Linked DNA regions of Homo sapiens: all the other regions are linked to region 1. The links are contacts of gene promoters, found by promoter capture Hi-C in blood cells and fetal thymus (Javierre and others, 2016). All regions are on one chromosome and are shown on one strand. Each heading gives the region's core, a stretch centred on a gene start or on the middle of the fragment in contact. The rest is flanking DNA. Distances are from core to core; before and after follow the strand shown. Region 1 holds the start of EML6 (EMAP like 6). Region 2 holds the start of CFAP36 (cilia and flagella associated protein 36). Region 3 overlaps PSME4 (proteasome activator subunit 4). Region 4 holds the start of ERLEC1 (endoplasmic reticulum lectin 1). Region 5 holds the start of PNPT1 (polyribonucleotide nucleotidyltransferase 1). Region 6 overlaps PSME4 (proteasome activator subunit 4). Region 7 overlaps ASB3 (ankyrin repeat and SOCS box containing 3).

The links. Contacts are between HindIII fragments. The CHiCAGO score rates a contact against its expected background, and 5 or more counts as called.
Region 2: a contact is called between the fragment with the promoter of CFAP36 here and the fragment with the promoter of EML6 in region 1, in 1 of 17 cell types (naive CD4 T cells). The highest score is 5.9, in naive CD4 T cells.
Region 3: a fragment that was not itself captured here is called in contact with the fragment with the promoter of EML6 in region 1 in 1 of 17 cell types (total B cells); the score reaches 5.1 in total B cells.
Region 4: a contact is called between the fragment with the promoter of ERLEC1 here and the fragment with the promoter of EML6 in region 1, in 10 of 17 cell types (naive CD8 T cells, non-activated CD4 T cells, total B cells and 7 more). The highest score is 14.4, in naive CD8 T cells.
Region 5: the fragment with the promoter of PNPT1 here is called in contact with the fragment with the promoter of EML6 in region 1 in 2 of 17 cell types (naive CD4 T cells and activated CD4 T cells); the score reaches 5.5 in naive CD4 T cells.
Region 6: a contact is called between a fragment that was not itself captured here and the fragment with the promoter of EML6 in region 1, in 1 of 17 cell types (total B cells). The highest score is 5.3, in total B cells.
Region 7: a contact is called between a fragment that was not itself captured here and the fragment with the promoter of EML6 in region 1, in 2 of 17 cell types (non-activated CD4 T cells and activated CD4 T cells). The highest score is 6.2, in non-activated CD4 T cells.

The regions. Positions count from the first base shown.
Region 1 is chr2:54,722,332-54,725,031 of GRCh38, reverse strand. EML6 (EMAP like 6) reads right to left here and starts at 1,370. Exons shown (of 42, transcript NM_001039753.4): 1 at 1,255-1,370; 2 at 1-483. RefSeq lists silencers at 167-316, 988-1,477 and an enhancer at 1,618-1,837. The HindIII fragment of the contact is 5,681 bases long and covers 1-1,907 here.
Region 2 is chr2:55,518,468-55,521,167 of GRCh38, reverse strand. CFAP36 (cilia and flagella associated protein 36) reads right to left here and starts at 1,450. Exons shown (of 10, transcript NM_080667.7): 1 at 1,252-1,450. The coding sequence starts at 1,366. RefSeq lists enhancers at 670-919, 2,100-2,149. The HindIII fragment of the contact is 7,670 bases long and covers 1-2,700 here.
Region 3 is chr2:53,940,421-53,943,120 of GRCh38, reverse strand. The region is part of intron 3 of PSME4 (proteasome activator subunit 4); the gene reads left to right. Among named protein-coding and RNA genes, the nearest start is that of PSME4, 29 kb to the left of the region's middle. The HindIII fragment of the contact is 1,359 bases long and covers 714-2,072 here.
Region 4 is chr2:53,785,747-53,788,446 of GRCh38, reverse strand. ERLEC1 (endoplasmic reticulum lectin 1) reads right to left here and starts at 1,403. Exons shown (of 14, transcript NM_015701.5): 1 at 1,075-1,403. The coding sequence starts at 1,236. ASB3 (ankyrin repeat and SOCS box containing 3) reads left to right here and starts at 1,494. Exons shown (of 10, transcript NM_016115.5): 1 at 1,494-1,626. The region is part of intron 1 of GPR75-ASB3 (GPR75-ASB3 readthrough); the gene reads left to right. RefSeq lists enhancers at 1,411-1,830, 1,346-2,004. The HindIII fragment of the contact is 9,655 bases long and covers 1-2,700 here.
Region 5 is chr2:55,692,408-55,695,174 of GRCh38, reverse strand. PNPT1 (polyribonucleotide nucleotidyltransferase 1) reads left to right here and starts at 1,331. Exons shown (of 28, transcript NM_033109.5): 1 at 1,331-1,512. The coding sequence starts at 1,352. RefSeq lists enhancers at 1,142-1,291, 1,322-1,381, 1,392-1,511 and a silencer at 2,082-2,141. The HindIII fragment of the contact is 6,564 bases long and covers 1-2,767 here.
Region 6 is chr2:53,911,282-53,913,981 of GRCh38, reverse strand. The region is part of intron 20 of PSME4 (proteasome activator subunit 4); the gene reads left to right. Among named protein-coding and RNA genes, the nearest start is that of GPR75-ASB3, 53 kb to the right of the region's middle. The HindIII fragment of the contact is 2,420 bases long and covers 174-2,593 here.
Region 7 is chr2:53,761,911-53,764,610 of GRCh38, reverse strand. The region is part of intron 2 of ASB3 (ankyrin repeat and SOCS box containing 3); the gene reads left to right. The region is part of intron 2 of GPR75-ASB3 (GPR75-ASB3 readthrough); the gene reads left to right. Among named protein-coding and RNA genes, the nearest start is that of CHAC2, 4.5 kb to the left of the region's middle. The HindIII fragment of the contact is 1,118 bases long and covers 799-1,916 here.

The sequences.
Region 1 (2,700 bases), core at 121-2,620:
CCCGCGCGCCGGGGCCGTCCTCGCCGAGGCTGGGGCTGCGGCGGACCTGCAGGGGCTCAGCGCGCGGCGCAGGGCGCTGATTTCCGCGGCGACACACAGGCACAGCCCAGCGGGCCGGCCGCCACCATCATCCGCTGCAGCCGCCGCAGACAAGCCGCCGCCGCCGGTGTGCGGCCGCCAGACCCCGCCGGGCGCCGGGCTCCCTCTACCCGGGCAAGGCGGCTCTGGGGGCGCCGGCACCGGCGCGCGCGCCTCACTGCACCTGCGGGCTCCGGCCCCCGGGAGAGGCTCTCGGGGGGGCCACCCCGCCTTTTACATCAGGAATCTGCATATCCCAACAGCGATCACCCAGTTCGCTCACTGAAGTTTGCGGTGCGCCGGGGCTTCGCGGCAGGCGGCGGGATTTATTCTGCGATAGCCTTGATTTGACAGGCAACCCGGGTGAGCTCTGCCATCGCCGTCTTTGGATCCGAAATTGACAGTCTATATCCAGGAAGCGAGAGCGAGGAAGAAAGAAACAGATTTTTCGCATAAGTCACCCAATCCAAGAAAATTATCCCCAAACTAAACCAAGTTGGGTATTTTTAAAAATTGTCCCCTACTCCCGCTTTCTCTCTCCAGTTCCATCTCCTTAATGATATGAAATATGCGTAAATGCTGCTGCCTGGCAGTTGCTGATGCGATTTGAAGGAACGCTTGCTGTTTCCCTAATAAGCGAGGGCGAATATGCAATGGTCATTTTTTAGATGCTCCAATTAGTTTTCATGTGTGTGTTTAATAATCATATCCTCCGTGAACCTTCTCTTCACCGAGAAAGCCATAAAGAACTTAGCAGCTCTCATTGATCAGCAACTCCAATCCGCATCATGAAAGATTGTCTTACTCGGAAGAAACGAGGCACTAGTGCAGTCGGAGGGAGTGCGCTACCTACAAACGCTCCTGGTCGAGGAGAAATCAAATAACAAGTGGCAAAAATCGTGTACTTCTCCCCAGAAACCTCTGCGCTAAACACCGGGTCCCACGGAATCCCGGGTCCTGCCCTGAGCCCAGCGTGGAGAGGGGTCGCCCGAGGGACCCGGGGGACAGCAACCCCCCACAGACGCACACGTCCCGGGGGTCGGCGCGCTGCGCGAGGGATGCCCGCCCTCAGGACTGTTCGGCCCGCGCGCACTGCCGCCCTGGCGGCGCCCTGCACTCCTCCCACTCTCGAACCAGCCTCGCCCGCGGAGCATCCGCGCGCTCTCTGCCTCTAACCTCTGCTGCCAGCGGACGCCACCGGCGCGTCCCGGATCCCGCGCGGGCGAGCGAGCGAAATCCTCTGCCTGCCCTCCCCTCCCCGCCTCCCGCACCCGGGGATGGACTTCGTCACTGGGGCGCCGCGGGAGACAGGTTCTTCCTCCAGCCGGGGCTCCGGGGGCGGGGCCACAACGCCGCGCTAGTGAACCTCAGCTGCCGGTTACTAGGCGAGATCTCGCCGCTTGGAAACAGCGACGCCCCGGAGGACTGGGGCCGCCCCCTCCCTCTGCCTGTCCCTGTGGCCTCTTCCCCCGACGCATCCTGGGAAGTGTAGTCCTCTCTGCGCCGGTTAGGGCGGACAGCGCGCGGAAGGGACCACAAGTCCCAGGATTCCGCGCGCCCAGAGGGAGTCGCAGCGAGACCTGTACCGGCGTCAGCGGAGCCTGCGGCTCTCGGGGTGAGGAGATCCCGGCTCACCAAGGACGATTGCCTGCCCACGCGGGCGTTCCCTTGTGACTGAGGCGGGAGCTGGCGTGCGTGGGTCTCTGTAGAGAAAAGCGGTGGAGTTGGAATGGAGACGGTCTCCCAGCCCACCACTGGAATTTCTCCTTCATCGGTCTCTGAGTGTTGCTGTAACCGACATCCTCACCATGCTGTAACTGACTCAAGCTTAAGTTTGTTTCCTACTTAAGTTTTCCTTTTCATTCACATGGATTTTAATTTGTTAAAGTGCAGTTCTGCCAAGTTTAAGAAAAATGCTGGGAATGTGAGCTCACTTCTGCCCTAAGAACCAGCGTCTTCCCATGACCTGCGTCCTAAATTAGAGGACTTGGGTATTTACAGATAACCGGAGGTTGGAAGCAGGAAGGTGCTCACGCCATGAACAGCTAACCTTGGCCTTCAAACGCAGAAGCTGGTGGCATTTCTCCTAAAACTGCCCGAGATGAACTATGAATCCACTGTGTTCTCAAGTAGCCTATTTCCAATTTAGGGCCATAGCTAGTCTTTGGAAAGAGATTTCAAAATCCCAGTGACTAAGAGGCTGCAAAAGGATGATGGATTGGACGTTTGGAACGTCCTTTCCCTCCCATGCTTTCAGTGTAATCGCTTACTCAGTTCATCTCCCTCAAGTTTTAAGACAACCCTCCGACCTGGTAGGAAAGCTCGAAAGAACTGGAAGTGCCAGAGTTTGGATGATTTGTTGCTGCCCGCAGTAATGAGGATTTGAATTGGTCTCATCTTTGTTTTTAAGGAAACAGAATCAACAAATAAGTGAGATGGCACTGTGCTAGGCAACAAGAACACTGCCAAAAACAAAAACACGGCCTGAGAAAGGTTTGAGATAGAAGCAAAAATATAGTTGATCAATGATGTCGTGCCATAAAACAGTGCCAAATGAATTATATAAAGACAGTAAGTTTTTGTTGTTCTTTTTGTTTTGTTTTGTTTTGAGACAAAACAGGC
Region 2 (2,700 bases), core at 201-2,700, 800 kb before region 1:
TTGTTAAAAAATTACCTGTAAAAATAACACTTTAATAACTACGATTTGAATATTGATTATAGCAATGAAAATGTAATGAAAAGATTCAGTGGTCAAACTGAATTTCATCTTTACCAGATTCATGATATCTTGGAATTTAAAGAAGTCTTAAAAGGTCATCCAGGATAACCGACCATTTGATAGCTGAATAGCTGAATCCCTCTAACCCTATTAAGTCGCTATCAGATCCATTCAAACACTGCTGGAGCCGGGAAGCTCATTACCTTCTGAGGCTGGCTAACTCATCTTGGATACATTCTATCATGAAACACTTCCTTCACTGAAATTTGTTTCCCTGTAGCTTGTACCAACTGACCCTAGCTCTATTCTACTCAACCTTACAACACAAAGCAGATGTTCAAATAATTGATGAATACTACTACCCTCAAAGTCTTGCCCGATTAAACAACCACAATAACGCTTGGGCACTCATTTATATGACGTGGTTTCTGGTTCCTTTTCTGCGAATGGGCTGCAAATAGTCTCCACGAACTGAATGCAGAACTCCAAGCCTGAAGAACTGCTCAGAACCCGGAGATGCCTGTCCTTCACGGGGAATATTATGCCATATCTATACGCCTCATTTGTTCCAAGAATGGTCCTGCCCCACCTCGCCAATTTTTGGTATAGCGAAGAGTAGAGAGCTCACCAAGGGGAACACAGGCCACCAAAATCACCGGCTCTGGGCTTCCTGGAGTTATCACATGCCCTCCTTTGCAGTTAACTGTTGGTTTGGAGTGAAATCATTTCTCATTTCCTAAGCTGACTACACCGGGCGAAATGCTAGGGATCATAAGGAACTCAGGTAAACCGACGCTTCTCCTCTCAAGTCTGGCAAAGCTGTTGAAGAAGCCCAGCCAAACAGTCCACCTGCCGAGGGCAGAAACGTTCGGGACAGGGTGAGAGACCGAATTTACGATTCAAGTCTAATGTTCTTCGGACGTGCGCTTCGGCCCCAGAGAAGGGGAGTCTCGGTCCCCGTTTTCAGGTCTGCGAAGGAACACATTGGCAGGGTGAAAGGAATTCCTCCCACACAACCAGCTCTAAACCTGATGACGCGGGTGGAGAAGGTGGTGAGGGGAACGAGACCTTGCGACAGGGGTGGAGACAGGGGGTCGGGGAGACGAGAGATGGCTTGTGGTTACCAACCCCCTGCCCGCCGCTGGTGTGAGAGAGGAGAAAAGGATTGTCGGTTCGGGCTCTGGTTTTTACCTTCACATTTCTGTTCCACAAAGTCCAAGATGGGGATGGACCAGTCTGGGCCTCGCAGGAACCCCGCGATGCTCTCCACTACCCACTCCACCTCGTCTTCTTCTTCCGCAGCCATCCCGCCCCAAAGGGGCAACGGGGAAGATCCCTAGGCCAGACCGCCGGACCCCGGTTAGGCCTTTGGGCCACAAGGAGCCGAGAGGGAGTAGGGGAAGAGCTGGCCCGCAGTCGCTCAGCCCCCAGGATAGAAGCTACCAACCAGTTAATGCAAAATGGTCGCTATGGCAACACACGTAGCCGCCCTAGACCGCGGCCCGGAAGTGAAGACAACTTTCCAGGAGCCTGCGCACTTAGCGGGGAGGGCAAACGTTTGAAAAACGTTTCTGATTGGTTAAAAAAGAACAGTGGACGAGGGCTGAGAAAAGAAGTGTAGCTATTGGCTGGAAGTCATAGACAGATTGCGCTCTCTCTTCTGATAAATGCGTAGGAGCCAAGGTTTAGAAAACGCGCAGTAGACGGGCGCGGTGGCTCACGCCTGTAATTCCAGCACTTTGGGAGGCCGAGGCTTGCGGATCACCTGAGGTCAGGAGGTCGAGACCAGCTTGGCCAACATGGTGAAACCTCGTCTCTACCAAAAATACAAAAATTAGCCTGGCGTGGTGGCGCCGCCTGTAATCCCAGGTACTCGGGAGGCTGAGGCAGGAGAATCGCTTGAACCCGGGAAGCCGAGGTTGCAGTGAGCCACTGCACTGCAGCCTGGGAGACTGCGTCTCAAAAGAAAAACAGGAAGAAAGAAAAGAAAAAAGAAAAGGCTCAGTGAGGGTCTGAGGTAACCGGGTCTCCACCTGACAGGGCTTCAGCGGCTGCAGTTCATCATTGTATCCCCAGCACCTCAGTCCCAACCATTTTCAGACCATTGGCCCAGAGGCGTTTGTAATTAAAGGGTTGTCTGAAAATACAAAGCCGAGCTGTGTGAGACTCGCTGATTGTCTTACGGTCAGTTTGCATCTGTATCTTCAGGCGGGTCTTTAATCTCTTACGCTTGGATAAAGATAACTAGAATTAGGAGCTTTTCAAGGGCAAGAGCAAAGTTAATACTCACTTAAATAAATGCCTTGGTAACCAAATCTTATTATAACTCCAACTCAGCATTTAGGTGGAGTCCATTGTGGAATGGGGTCTTCAGTGGTCATTGTGAAGGTGTTTGGAGTCCCAAAATATCTTCAGACAACCATATATATATATATATTTTTTACATAAATAGGATTATATGTACAGTTATGAATTTTTTTCTTATATCTTTATCTTTTAAAAATATAAATTTGTGCTTTCTTTGCAACTGCATAGTATTCCATAAACCATCCTTTAGTCTATTTTTATTTTGTGAATGTGCACACAGTATCTTACCTGAATGCATGAAGATGATCATTATGTGCCTTTTTTTTTTTTTTT
Region 3 (2,700 bases), core at 144-2,643, 780 kb after region 1:
ATACTTTTCCCTGGTTTAGAAGTGAATATTGTCCTGGTAGAGCCAAGGGGGCAGGAGGCATAAATCTGCAAGTTTATATGGTTCACTGTCTCAGTAACTGGAGGCGAAGACTATTGGTTTTCCTCAGGCTTATCTGTTAGTATTTGACATTTACTTTGTTAATGGCATCATAAGGAAATCGAGGTCCAGAGAGGAAAATTCACACAGAATCATTGGTTGAAACTGGAACAAGAGCTTAAGAACTGGGACAAGAACTCTCTTTTTACCCTTAATAATAGGGTGGCAGTTGGGGAGGAATTTCCTATTTTGATGTGATTTCCTAAATCATAAATTAGTAGCTACTCAGAGGCAGTAAGAGCAAAATAAGCACAAAAGTTTAATTCTTAAGGAAATTGAGAATACAATTTATTATGGCTAAGTATGAAATAATAATTAACATTTATTATCCTTAATTCTGGGCCGTATACCTGCTTTCTATACCTTATCTCATTTAATTTTTGTAACAGCTTTATGAGAGGTAGGTATTATTGCTTATATTGATGAGAAAACAGCTATAATATAACTAGGAAGTAGCAGAACTGATACTCAAATTAAGATCTGTCTGACTCTAAGGCCAAACTGTAAACCATTATATGCACTACTGTGGCTTTCTTTTTCAACCTGATGTATCTTTTTAAAGAGGAAATAGGGTATAAGAAAACCCATCCAAAGCTTAGTTACTCTGTAGATCCCTTTTGATTTTAAAAAAAAAAACAAGTGTTTTGAATTGTTATCACTTTAGTATTATACATTTCCAACAGTTGGAAAGTATTTAGTGATTATTCACTCCCTCTAAAAATTAGTGAAATGTAGTCTAGTAGCATCTAGCCTTAACCTTTTATTTTATTTTTAAACAGAAACATTGTTCCCTTCATCTTGAGAGATTACAAGAATCACAAAAGGTCACTATACAGATATCACAGGTTAGAGAGATTGTACCCTTTTCTGGATAAACATCATAAATCCAATGGTACAGGCCTTATATTTAAGAAGGGGTTGAAATTGACTTTATTTAGAGTAACTAAATTGCATTCCCACATACCCTAATCCTCTAATAAGTGAAGTGACTCTATCAAGTGTTATAATTAACTTCCTATTCTTCTGAAGCGTGAAGGGAACTGAAGAAAACATGTAGCTTTGCAGCCTTTTATGACTTGCTTTCTAGAATCGTTTATGACATTATGCGAAAGTATATTGGTATAGCAAGGTCGTATGTGAAAACAGCAGGTTTTCTGTGTAGCGCAGAACCAATAAAATAAATGTAATATTAATGAGAACACAAGCATTAGTACTGATAGAATTATGTATCTTATGCTCATTTTCATGGATAAACAGTTTACAATTTTAGAATTACCTTTTAAAAATCTTCATTTAAATTGAGTAATTTAGTTTAAAACTAGATGACTCTTTAAACCTTAGCTGTTAATTCTATACTTTGTTACTAAAAGAAGACCCAAGATCTGTGCTTTTTGTTACTCTGATATAAAATGTTTATTATTACAAATCAATAGACAGATAAGTATAAATATATATGAGCAGATAGCCTTTTTATAAGCACTTTGGAAGTGCCCAGAAATAAAAATCATAGCTGTGGTCTTCAGGGAGCTTTAAACGTAGTTGGATAGAAGTTTGCCCTGTTTTTTTTTAATGGGCAAACTTAGATTTTCTCTAAACTGTGTTTTTGAATTGCTTAGCCTTTTCATAAGAAAAAGAAGAACCTCCCTCTCATGATCAGAGACAGTGCTTATTGATGGCCTTTTGGCCATGTAGTTTCTTTTTTATTTTAGAAGTCATCTCATGTGTTGTAATCTAGTTGCCTCTTCAGTTAATTTTTCTCTGAGTAGTTTTGAAATTAAAGAGGATTTCTACTGCTCCAAGTAATGAGATTATAGTTTTCCTCTCTTGGTTATATAATATGTTGATTATTTGTGATGAGTTTGCTCTCTGTTATTCCTTGGAATTTCTTTGCAGATTAGTTCCTAAACTTTCAGAGAAGTTGGATAGACTTCTGGACTTAAGAATTTCAAAAAGCTTAATAAGAAAGTGTCAGGTGGAGACATTGCCTGAAACTTACTCCTTTCATATATATATATATATATATATATATATATATATATATATATATATATGTATATATATATTTATATATGTATTATATATATATTTAAATATGTATTATATATATTTAAATATGTATTATATATATTTAAATATATATTATATATATATAAATTTTTTTGAGATTTGGGGAATTTTATTTTTACTTGTACATATCATACTGTAAGTAGTCACACACGTATTTTAAAATTCCAGCTCAAAATTATCTAGTGCTCCATTGTTTATATTGTTTGTTTGCATTTGACCGCTTGACTATGATCTAGTAAATATTTAAATATTCCATTCTGGTCACGTGTTTAAACCAGTACACATTGGCCTTTTTATTAAAAAAGAAATGTGGATTATAAATTCATACACACATTTTTATGTTGGTCTCCTGTATTCACTTGAGGCAACTACATGTTGTAAAGTAAGTTATAATTTTTAATGTTACTCGACTAACTTTATAAGTATCTGCTCAAAGAGATGCTATTGTTCTTTTTGATAATTGTTGCTGGCCTTAAAGTGCCTGGGAGGGTTATCGAACTCTCATCAATTGGTTGT
Region 4 (2,700 bases), core at 154-2,653, 940 kb after region 1:
TGGGCAACAGACTGAGACCCTGTCTCAAAAAACAAACAAAAACAGAAAAACCCAAACCAAACCAAACCAAACCAAAAAACCCCTAACACTTGCAAATAGAAAGCTATGTGGTAATAACATCCATTAACTTGACACATCTTGTTTTGACATCATAGTGTCACTTACTGTTTCAATGAAATGGTAATGAAAGAATATAATAAAGTATTGCAAGTTGAATGCTTGAAGGTAATTGGAATAAAAAGTTTAAAAAAATTTTGCTTTTTCCGGGACTTCAATTTGAAGTAAATGAGTTAATTACTACATGGTAAGTGTCATAAGAGTACAATATTTATTAGCCTGCAGTAGGTACACGTGGACAGGAAGACTTTTCAGCGGTCCACTCCCCCAAGAGGGAATTTTCATTTCCGCGAGGTTACAAATGTTCTTCACTACAGGAAAACTCAACATAGAAGCTCATGTTCTGGGGACTCAAATAACAGTCGTAATACATGAAAACTGTAAAGGATATTCTGCATAAAGGGTCGTTAACATCTCACAGGCCAAATAGCCCTCTCAGAAACAACTAGGAAAGGAAAAAGTTCCCTTGGAGCTGTGCGTTTGCGTATGTCCGTGTGTGTATACAACTGAGGGAGAACGAATACGAGAGAGGGAACTCGAGTCTGAAGTACTGTGGTGTGGGCAGGGTGACATGTAATACTGAAGGAAAGAAGTCTGCTGGTGAAGTAAGAGCCACAGTTAATTTTCCGAAAGGAAGATGAGTAAGTGCACCTGACGTTATTCTACGAAAGCTGCTTCTGCAGGGTGGGAATGTTGGGAAGCAAGGTCTAGTGCGACAGAATTGAAAAGGTGGAGAGCAGGTGATTGCTGGATCCCTAATGCTCAGCAAGGGGGACGCATCCACATAACGTGAGAACGAACGAATGAATGAACGCTGCATAAAAGCAGCTTTGGCTTGGGGAAGGTAAGAGTCTGCAGAGAAGGTCTTGGGGAGAAAAAGCAAAGAAAACCGAGGGAAGAGGCCGAACCCTTAGTGTCAGGAGGAGGGGTGGCTGCGGGGTTAGTGAGGGCACTGACCAGAGAGAACTCGGTGCCGGGCCAGTTGACTCGGAAAGGGATGTCATCGCTGAGTTGAGGAAGGGCTCGGCCGCCGCCGGACGCCTCCAGGAGGCCGCAGAGGACCAGTAACACCGGCCCGCCCGGGACCAGACTCCGTACGCCGCCGCCTCCTTCCTCCATCCTCCGCCGCCGCTTTCTCCAGCCACCGCCACAACCTCCTCTGCTCCAGGAGGAGAGGAGGAGGAGGAGGAGGTGGAGGAGGAGGCGGCGGGACTATAAAGCGCCCGGGTATCACCGGCCCAACCGCCGCCACGTCTCCTTCCGGAGAGCCCGGCAACGCCGCCTCCGCCCCCTTGAGCCTCCTGTCACCGTTTCCGGGGCAGACGACATATCAACATCCGGGGGTCGCGGAGCCGTCCGCCTACGGGGGCCGGGACGTCGCCTGCGCGTCTCTCGTTTTCGGACGGCTGCAGCATCGCGGTGGGGATCGAAAGCGGGGGCTTCTGGGACGCAGCTCTGGAGACGCGGCCTCGGACCAGCCATTTCGGTGTAGAAGTGGCAGCACGGCAGGTCGGTGAGTCTCGGAGGCGGCAGCCGCTTCCTGAAGCCATTCCCGCTGCTCTCCAGTGGGCAGGCAGAGGTTTGACCCACACGGAGTGATAGCGGGAAGAAGACAGTGTGAACCGTGCGGGTGCGGGTCCTTAGATGAGAAAATTCGAAGTAGCGATGAGATGTGAGAAATGGCGGTGTTCCTGACTGACCTGCCTTCTTGCAGCTTTTCTTCTTTTTCTCCGCATTTGGCATTTGTACACTTCATTTTTCCCGCTTGAGGCTTATCTCCATCTCTTCTGCTGTGGACCGTGGCCATCTCGTTACTTAACAGCTTCTGACTAACGCAGGGCAGTTTGTTCAGCGACTGCAACTCTGTGTTAGGGGAAACCTGGGGTGAGGTAGCCCGCCATCTCCCCGTAGGTGAATACCGCAAGCCTCCGAATTTGGCGTGGTGGGCGACTCTCGTGGAATGGGCAGCTAGACATCACAACCCTACATTTTTACCCTCCATCTCTAGATTGAAGTGTTGGGGTGTTGTTTTATCAAGGAAGCTGGTAAGGTTCCTTATGTGAGGTTTAGCGCCAGATGAATGTGTGTGTTTATGAACTAAGTCACGTCTGACTGCATCCCCAAATTAGACAAAAAGTTTTGTTTTTCCCTCCCCCTCTTTAGAAAAAATGCCATTGTCTGTTTTGATCTCCAATATAATGGACATAGAGTGTTGGCTTTAGAGAAATTACCATTCCCTAAAGCTCGACAGTCTTGCTAGATCTGTTAAAGACTGGTCGCCCCCACTTCCTCAGATTTGAACCAAATCAAAAAGCAGGAAGGACAGTCCCATATTCTATCTTAAAAATTTTTTTTTAACATCAGGAATCCATAGTATCAAAGAAGATAACTTTCTTCAGAATTGTTATTCGCTAATTATATTCAGCACTTCTTATTAATGCTTAATGTGATCCAGACTCCTGGGATTTTTGTTGTTGTTGTTTGTTTTGAGACAAAGTCTCGCTCTGTCACCCAGGCTGGAGTGCAGAGGCATAATCTTGGCTCACTGCAACCTCCGCCTCTGGAGTTCAAGGGATTCTCCTT
Region 5 (2,767 bases), core at 82-2,581, 970 kb before region 1:
GATTACAGGCACGCGCCACCACACCGAGCTAATTTTTGTATTTTTAGTAGAGACGCGGTTTCAGCATGTTGGCCAGGATGCCCTGGGTCTCTTGACCTCGTGATCCACCCGCCTCTGCCTCCCAGCGTGCTGGGATTACAGGCATGAGCCACTGCGCCCGGACTTTTTTTTTTTTTTTTTTTTTTTTTTTTTTTGAGACCGAGTTTCACTCTTGTTGCAATGACGCGATCTCGGCTCACTGCAACCTCCGCCTCCCGGGTTCAAGCGATTCCCCTGCCTCAGCCTCCCGAGTAGCTGGGATTACAGGCATAAGCCACCATGCCCGGCTAGTTTTGTATTTTTAGTAGAGACGGGGTTTCTCTGTGTTGGTCAGGCTGGTCTCGAACTCAGGTGATCCGCCCGCCTCGGCCTCCCAAAGTGCTGGGATTACAGGCGTGAGCCACAGCGTCCAGCCAACGTTTTTAATTCTTAAAACTGTGTTTGAATGAGTGTTGGGTTTTTGTTGTTTGGTTTTCTTTGGGGTAAGGCGGTTATCACCTTACACAAAAAATTTACATCATAATATGAAAATGCCCATTGGTTCATTCAAGGAAAAACATAAAGAATTTCTAACAGAATGGATTAATGGGGTGGAAGAAATTTATCCATTCTCTAAAAATTTTTCAAATCCCAAAAACTTTTTTTTTTCATTTTACAAAATATTTACTTCAAACAGTAGCTGGCATTTTGCATTTAAGAGTTCGACCAAAAGGGACAGAAATATAAATTGCTAATTATTAGCAATGGAAATGAAAATGAATCAGAAGTGACAATAAAGATTTCTAAAATTACAAGTCGATGAAAAATGAATTTACTGTAAATTGGTTAACACAAATCGCTGTAGTAACATATCTGCTATGTGAAATTTTTAAAATAAAAACCAGGGCGGAGAAGGGGAGAAGGAGATCTCTTTCCAAGGCCCACCACCCAAATTCTAATTCTTAGTTCACAGATCCAAATAATAATAATGTGTTGTTCTATGACTTCTAGTATTAAAAGTAAATATAAATTTACTCTGCATATTAAACATTTACATTATTCTAGGACTTCTCCTTTAAATTACGATAGTACACACACAAAAACCTTATTTATCTAATTGCCTTTCGTTGGCACATAAAGACAAAGATCGTTTGCAACATAATCGCGTTCTGATAGGTTTGACCCTCTCTAGTCTTCGTAGAAGGTGGCCAAGGTTTCCGTTACCCCGGCGTCCCTCGGGCACCGCGGAAACGAAACTCCATCAGGCTCCGCCCCACGGTCTGCGGAGTGAGCCAATCAGGGCACAGCCTGCGTTGACCGCGTGCCGGGTGTCATGGCGGCCTGCAGGTACTGCTGCTCGTGCCTCCGGCTCCGGCCCCTGAGCGATGGTCCTTTCCTTCTGCCACGGCGGGATCGGGCACTCACCCAGTTGCAAGTGCGAGCACTATGGAGTAGCGCAGGGTCTCGAGCTGTGGCCGTGGACTTAGGCAACAGGTAAGGAGTGACGTGCGTTCACTGTATTGTCATAAGGTGTCTTGTCCAGCCAGCTTGAGCGTATTCATCTCCCAGGGTAGAAACCCGGTATCCCAGCTCTATTTAATCTCTCCTTACCCTAAACCTAAATTCCAAATTTCCCTTTCCGGGTTTGGAATGTGTCTCCTCGGACCCTCCTTCCCGCGCTATGTCGTTCTCTCTGTTGGTGTGTGCCGGGCTTCTTTGCTCCATCCGACTCTGTCCGTCCACCTGACTTCCGATCTCTTTACTTTCCGGGACCACTGGGCTCTTAAGTGGGAAACATTCCACCTAGGAATAACGAGTTGACGTGGGTGAGACGAGGCCCCCCGGGATGCTGGCCCGGACCCTGGAAGCTGGGGCTCTGATGCCCCTCGAGCTGGGACACAGACCTCAGCAGAGGCTCCGGGTGGCTAGTGCACCACGGGTCCCCCACGTCCCACTCCTCGGGCTCCTTCAGCCTCCTCTTCACCAGGAGCCTACCTTGTAGAAGTTGAACACCAGGTCCAGTTCACAGACATTGTGGAAATATTCGTTTAAGACCTGGGAGAGGAAGGCAGAGATGGTAAGAGATGGACAGGGAGAGAGCCACACACGCACAGAGATGGGAACAAGGTCATCAGAAAGAGACAGCAAAAAAAAGAGACCAAGAGGGAGGCAGGGGAGAGAGAGAGACAGTGACAGGGAGAGAGGCAAGGAGACACACAGAGAGAAACAAAAGCAAAGATCGATGCAAAGAGATGGCAAAAGGTCAGGCGCTCACACCTGTAATCCCAGCACTTTGGGAGGCTAAGACGGAAGGATGACTTGAAGTTAGGAGTACAAGATATCATGTCATCCAATCTAATTGATTGCCTAAAGTGTGACCACTATGACCCTGGGTTAGGAGGAAAAGGAAAAGTCAGTTTTTTGAACGCCAGTTATATGATCCTCGCAATCTTTTTAAACCTGTCGTAAAGGTACTATTACCCTCATTTTATAGTTAAGACTACAGAGGCTCAAAAAAGGTTAGATAACTTTCTAAGAGTCTATAAAAAAGTTAGTATTATGGGACTAGGTGGTTTTTGAATTTCTGTTTTTTGCTTACAAAGCCCATACTTTTTTTTAGGGGACCGCTTTTTAAAAAAAAAGTTTGCTTTAATCGTTCTTAGAATAAATGGAATTGCTAATGCAAACTTCATATATCTAAATTTTTTACGTGTACTTTGAAAAAATTTGGACCCCAGTTCATACAAAA
Region 6 (2,700 bases), core at 134-2,633, 810 kb after region 1:
TGCTTATGCAATGAGGGGCAGGGCTAGCTAACCTCTCTTGGCACCTCCAGGAAACTACCCAGCTCTGCTGGGGGAGCTGCACACAGAAAAGGAAACAGTTACTACTCCACGGTGAGTAACCCTGTTTTCTCCTTATTTCACCTTCTGACTGTTTTCATTTATTTTTAAAAGCTTATGTGTCAGACTTGGAAGTAGTTCCTGTTTTCAGAGTTAATTTAAAATCTAGCAACATATAAGATTTCTCTTTATTTAGTGACCCTTTGTTCACTGGCAGGATAAGAGCCAGGTTTTCATTTGTGTTTATAGTTATTATTGCTACCTAGGATTGAATTGGATAATAGAACACAAAAATAGGCCTAACTGTCTCTTGTGAGACATTTGTACTTTGAAGGGAAAAAATCTATTAGTGGCTTGGTTTTACATCTTTTATGTTTATTTTTATTTGGAAGGGGAAGGGTTATTGGGAAGATAGGATGTTCTTTCACTTATACACAGGAAGAATTTTATATTATTGTTTACAGCTGTTTCATGACAATTCGCCCAGCCTTCATTTACATATGTGATTTGTATTATATATTTTGTTTTTGTGTTATTAGTTATTTCTTTTTCAGCATCCCTTCTTTCCTACCAGTGATTCTTTTCATAGTCCTGCTCTAATCATATCTAAAGAAGATTCCCATCTAGTGGTACGAATACTATAGTTGTTGAAAATTCATAGGTCCTTTTTTAGTGGTACAAATATTTTAATACATTTTACTATATGTTAGGTGGCCTGGTACTATCTAGAAGCTATGAAGCAGATTTAATTTTATTATTATTACATAGAGGGTGTTATTTACAGTATGTTGTGCTGGAATTATTTTTTTGAATTGTATTGTTCCTTAGGTTAAATGATACTATGGTTTGTAAAATGAACTAGTGAATGAGTAGGATGGATTTCACATGAGGAAGGGAGAGGTAGTGATGGAATTTGATTTGACTTACATATTGTTAACATAGCTTTTAGTCAGAATATAGATCTGTAAGACAGTGCCTTAAGACTATTCACTTAAGATTATGTGCATAGCTAAAAGCTACCAGAACAGTTTAATATATCACAGATTACATCCTGGGCACAATGAGATCTATAATGTCACAAAGAGATACAGTCATGATATTTTACTTGGGTAATGGGTAGAGATTTCTTTTAGTAAAAAATCTTCTAAAGGTCAGAAGAGGTAGGATACTATGGCTCATGCCTGTAATCCCAGTGCTTTGGGAGGTGGAGGTAGGAGGATTGCTTGGGGCCAGGGATTTGAGACCAGCTTGGGCACCATAGCGAGACCCTGTCTCTACCAAAAAGTAAATAAACAAAATTAGCTGGCGAGGTGGTGTGCACCTGTAGTACCAGCTACTCAAGAGCCTGAGGTGTATGTGAGTCCACTTGAGCCAGGAAGGTTGGGGCTGCAGTGAGCCATGATCGTACCATTGCACTGCAGCCTGGGTGGCAGAGGGAGATCCTATCTTGAAAAATAAATAAATAAATAGCTACACTTGCTGAGAAGCATTTATTGTAAATCATGTTAATCCAGTTAATTTGTGGTAGGCAAGAAGAGATCAAATTATGGTGGATAAGAATAAACAAAAGCTGTAATGTATACTACCCAGATATGTCCTATATATAGTCTTCCCTTGGTGAAGTTAGGGGATTGGACCTACAGCATACCAAAATACATTCATACTCAAGTGCCACAGTAGGCCCTGTAGAGCTCACATACAGGAAAAGTCAGCCCTCCATATGTGTAGATTTCTCATCTGGCTAATACATTTAGTTGAAAAAAAAATCTGCGTGTAAGTAGACCCACACCTGTGTTGTTCAAGGGTCACCTCTGTGTAGGAGATATGGAAGCTGTATTTTAATCCAAGTTTTAAAAGTCGAGGAAGAAGATAAGGCTTTTATTTAAATACATTACTTAATATTTTACAATCTTATACAGGATTTTTTAAAGTAGTCAGCATAAATGATTATTTTTCAAATTCCCTGATAAGAAAACAATTCAAAGTGTCACATGGATTTTAAGAAATTTGGTGTCAGGACTCTTAGATGAAACTTGTTTGAAAAACTTTAAATTCCCAAATGACAGGCTTTTTAGATATAGTAAAAACTATGGAGAATAATTGGTTATAAAGAATGCTTTTTTTAATTTGTATAATATGACAGTAACTAAAGTGACAGTAATTAAAATTCATGCTTGATTTAATATTATATGGCATTAGATACAGACTGCATAAGCTGCAGACTGTATATTTCTACTTCAGAAAACTAAGTGTTTATGGCAGCAGTGGGGAGACACATACTCTAATAGGATGGCTCATAGCAAGCACTTCCCCTGCTCTAACAGTGGGCGGGGGGAGGGTGGGAACTCTCTTGTGCTTTATTCTTGTTACTCTTGAGTACAGGCCTTTTCTCTTTGGTGAAATCTAATTTCAGTAAAGACATAACGTTCATGTAAAGGAATCTGATTTTATTTTTTACTAACAGATTTTGGATACATACATATTTTTGATCATGCAAAAATATTTAAGATGCTCAGGTTTGCCAGTGGTTGAAGCTTTATAGAAGGAAAACAAAATTTTAAGAGGAATTTGGTCTTGAAAGTCTGAAAAAGCAAATTAACGTTTGATACTATTAATATACAATATTAATAAGCTTTGAAGTAA
Region 7 (2,700 bases), core at 108-2,607, 960 kb after region 1:
TGAAGGTCATTGACTAAAGGCGAGATTCTGACATTTAGTATAGAGGGGGTAGGAAGAAAACAAATGGTGACTGAGCATTGCTTTGTGATAGTCATTGTGCCACATGCTCAATTTATCTTCTTTATCTAATATTTATAAAAATGGTGTTAGAGGCAGTATTATCCTCATTTTATTGGTGAAAAGACCAAGGCTCAGAGAAGTTGACTTGTAAAAGGTTACATAATAAACTAGGGTATTTGATTTGAACCCATTTCTCTGACTCTAAAGCCCTTTTTTTTCCTCTCATACCAAGCTTCTAACATTTAATTGAATGAATTTATAGCATTCAGTTAAAATGAGGTTGACTATAATACTCTGCATTGTAACACTCAGAACCAATTTCATTTCATTGATCGTGGAAATTCAGACCCTCTTTCCTGCATACTTGTCATCACCAGGTATAGGTCCTTAAAATATAAACTTCTGGGTCCATAGCCCATCAGAACTACTAATTTGTTACCTGCTGGACGGGAAAGGAAATAATCTTTACATTGTTTTTGGTAGTGGTAGGTGTTTTTTTTGTTGTTGTTGTTTTGTTTTTTTCTTTTTTTTGTCTTAACAGGTAAGAGATGGTAAGGCTAAACTTCCTAAATCATAATGCAGGAAATTTGTCATGATTGTTTTTAAAATCACATGTTCAAGTGTCTAGTGTCTATTATAGTTGAGTGTTTGAAGATAGTGGAAAAATAGATGTTATTCCTCTAATTTCAAACGCTTAAGATATGTTTTCAGAATCTGTTTGAAGTTAACTATAAAGCTTGAGTTCCCAAACTATTTTTAGTAACAAAGACATGAGTTTGAATATCCTTTTCTAGGCAAAAAGCTCATTTCCAATATACTGTTACATCTCTTCTTCATATCGGAATAGTGTAGTTTATGTTACAGATTTTTTTCATCTGCTGAGTAAACTTGGGCATGCTTTTGACTAAAGGCATTTGAACTGGCTGTTAAATTCATCTCTACAGTTGTCCTGCCATATCCACAGGGAATTGGTCCCAAAATGTCCACGGACACCAAAATTCATGGATGCTCCTCAAGTTCGGCAGTCTGCCCTGAAGATAGGAAAACGTCCTATACACACATACAAAAGGTCAGCCGTCTGTATCTGTGGGTTCCACATCCTACAAATGCTATTATCTTCCATCCCAGTTGGTTGAATCTGCAGGTGCAAAACCCGTGGATACAGAAGCCCGACTGTATTTCCTTTTTTTCTGAGACAGAGTCTTGCTCTGTTGCCCAGGTGGGAGTGCAGTGGTGCGACCTCAGCTCACCACCACCTCCACCTCCCAGATTCAAGCGGTTCTCCTGCCTCAGTCTCCCAAGTAGCTGGGACTACAGGTGCACACCACCAATGCCTGGCTAACTGTCTCACTTTGTTGCCGAGGCTGGTCTCAAACCCTTGGCTCAAGTGATCCTCCTGCCTTGGCTTCCCAAAGTGCTGGGATTACAGGTGTGATGCATCACACCTGCTGTCTTTTATTATATAATTTTCCTACCTCCCTGAGGTTTATCTAATATTAATACACTGTCAGAGATTCCTAAAAGATAATTAGTGCACCCAAATAAGAAGGTATGTAGGCCTACACAAATAAAATGGAAATATCTAAAATGATTAGAAGAGTTTTGCTTCACTGTCTCTTCAATTTAGATTTGGAATCCATTCTGAGTACCATACATGGTCTTCTGACTCAAGTTGGAGAAGAGCATTCAAGTGTGGTGTAGATTACATAGAAGTTTAATATGCATACATATTTTTGTATTTCTTATGTATCTCATTTTAGTTTTCTGTTTAACATATTAGCACAGATAACAAATTTGCTTGTCTTCTCTCCTGTATTGGAGGTTGGGTGTAATGGGTGTTGAGATTTTATGAAGCTTGTCATCCTGGAGGGCAGTAATGATCTTCACTGACAATTAATGCCATTCAATAATAAGTCATTTGCTGACTAAAAGTCCCTTAAAAATCTTATAATTATTAAGCATATAGCTAAAAAATACTTTTATTTGGCTAATAAATGATCTAGCTCATAGTATTTTTTATTAGTTCATGTTAAATAAGAAAATACGCACTAATACTGGGCACAGTAACAGATGCAGAAGTTCCTTAGACAAATAAATCATTGTAGCACAGCGATTAAGAGTTACGGTCAGATGGACCTGAATTCTAGTGACTCTACCATTTTATTGGTGTGACTTTGGACAGGTTTTTTAACCTCTAAGTGGTTTAGTTTTTTCATCTGTTAGATAGAAATATTCCATTGTTCCAGCTCAGGCCAGAAACTCTGGGCCATCATTAATTCCTTTCTTTTTCTCATATTTCTCATCTAGTCAGTCAGCAAATTTGTGTATGTGTATGTCTATATTTGTGTGTATGTATACACACACACACACACACACACAGTTAGATCACTTCTCACTACCATTAATACCTTGTCTGCGTTGCTATAATAGCATCTTAACAGATCTTCTCTATCTGCCATTGCTCCTTCTGCATCCTATGACAGACCACCCTCAATATATTAGAGGGATCATTTTAAAATGCAACAGACCAAGTCACTCTTCTGCTCTCTTGAGTGAAAACACTTTTGTGTAGTATTTCATGGTAGAGATGTAATGTAATTTATGTAACCATTCTTCTATTGATAGATATTTTGTTTGTTT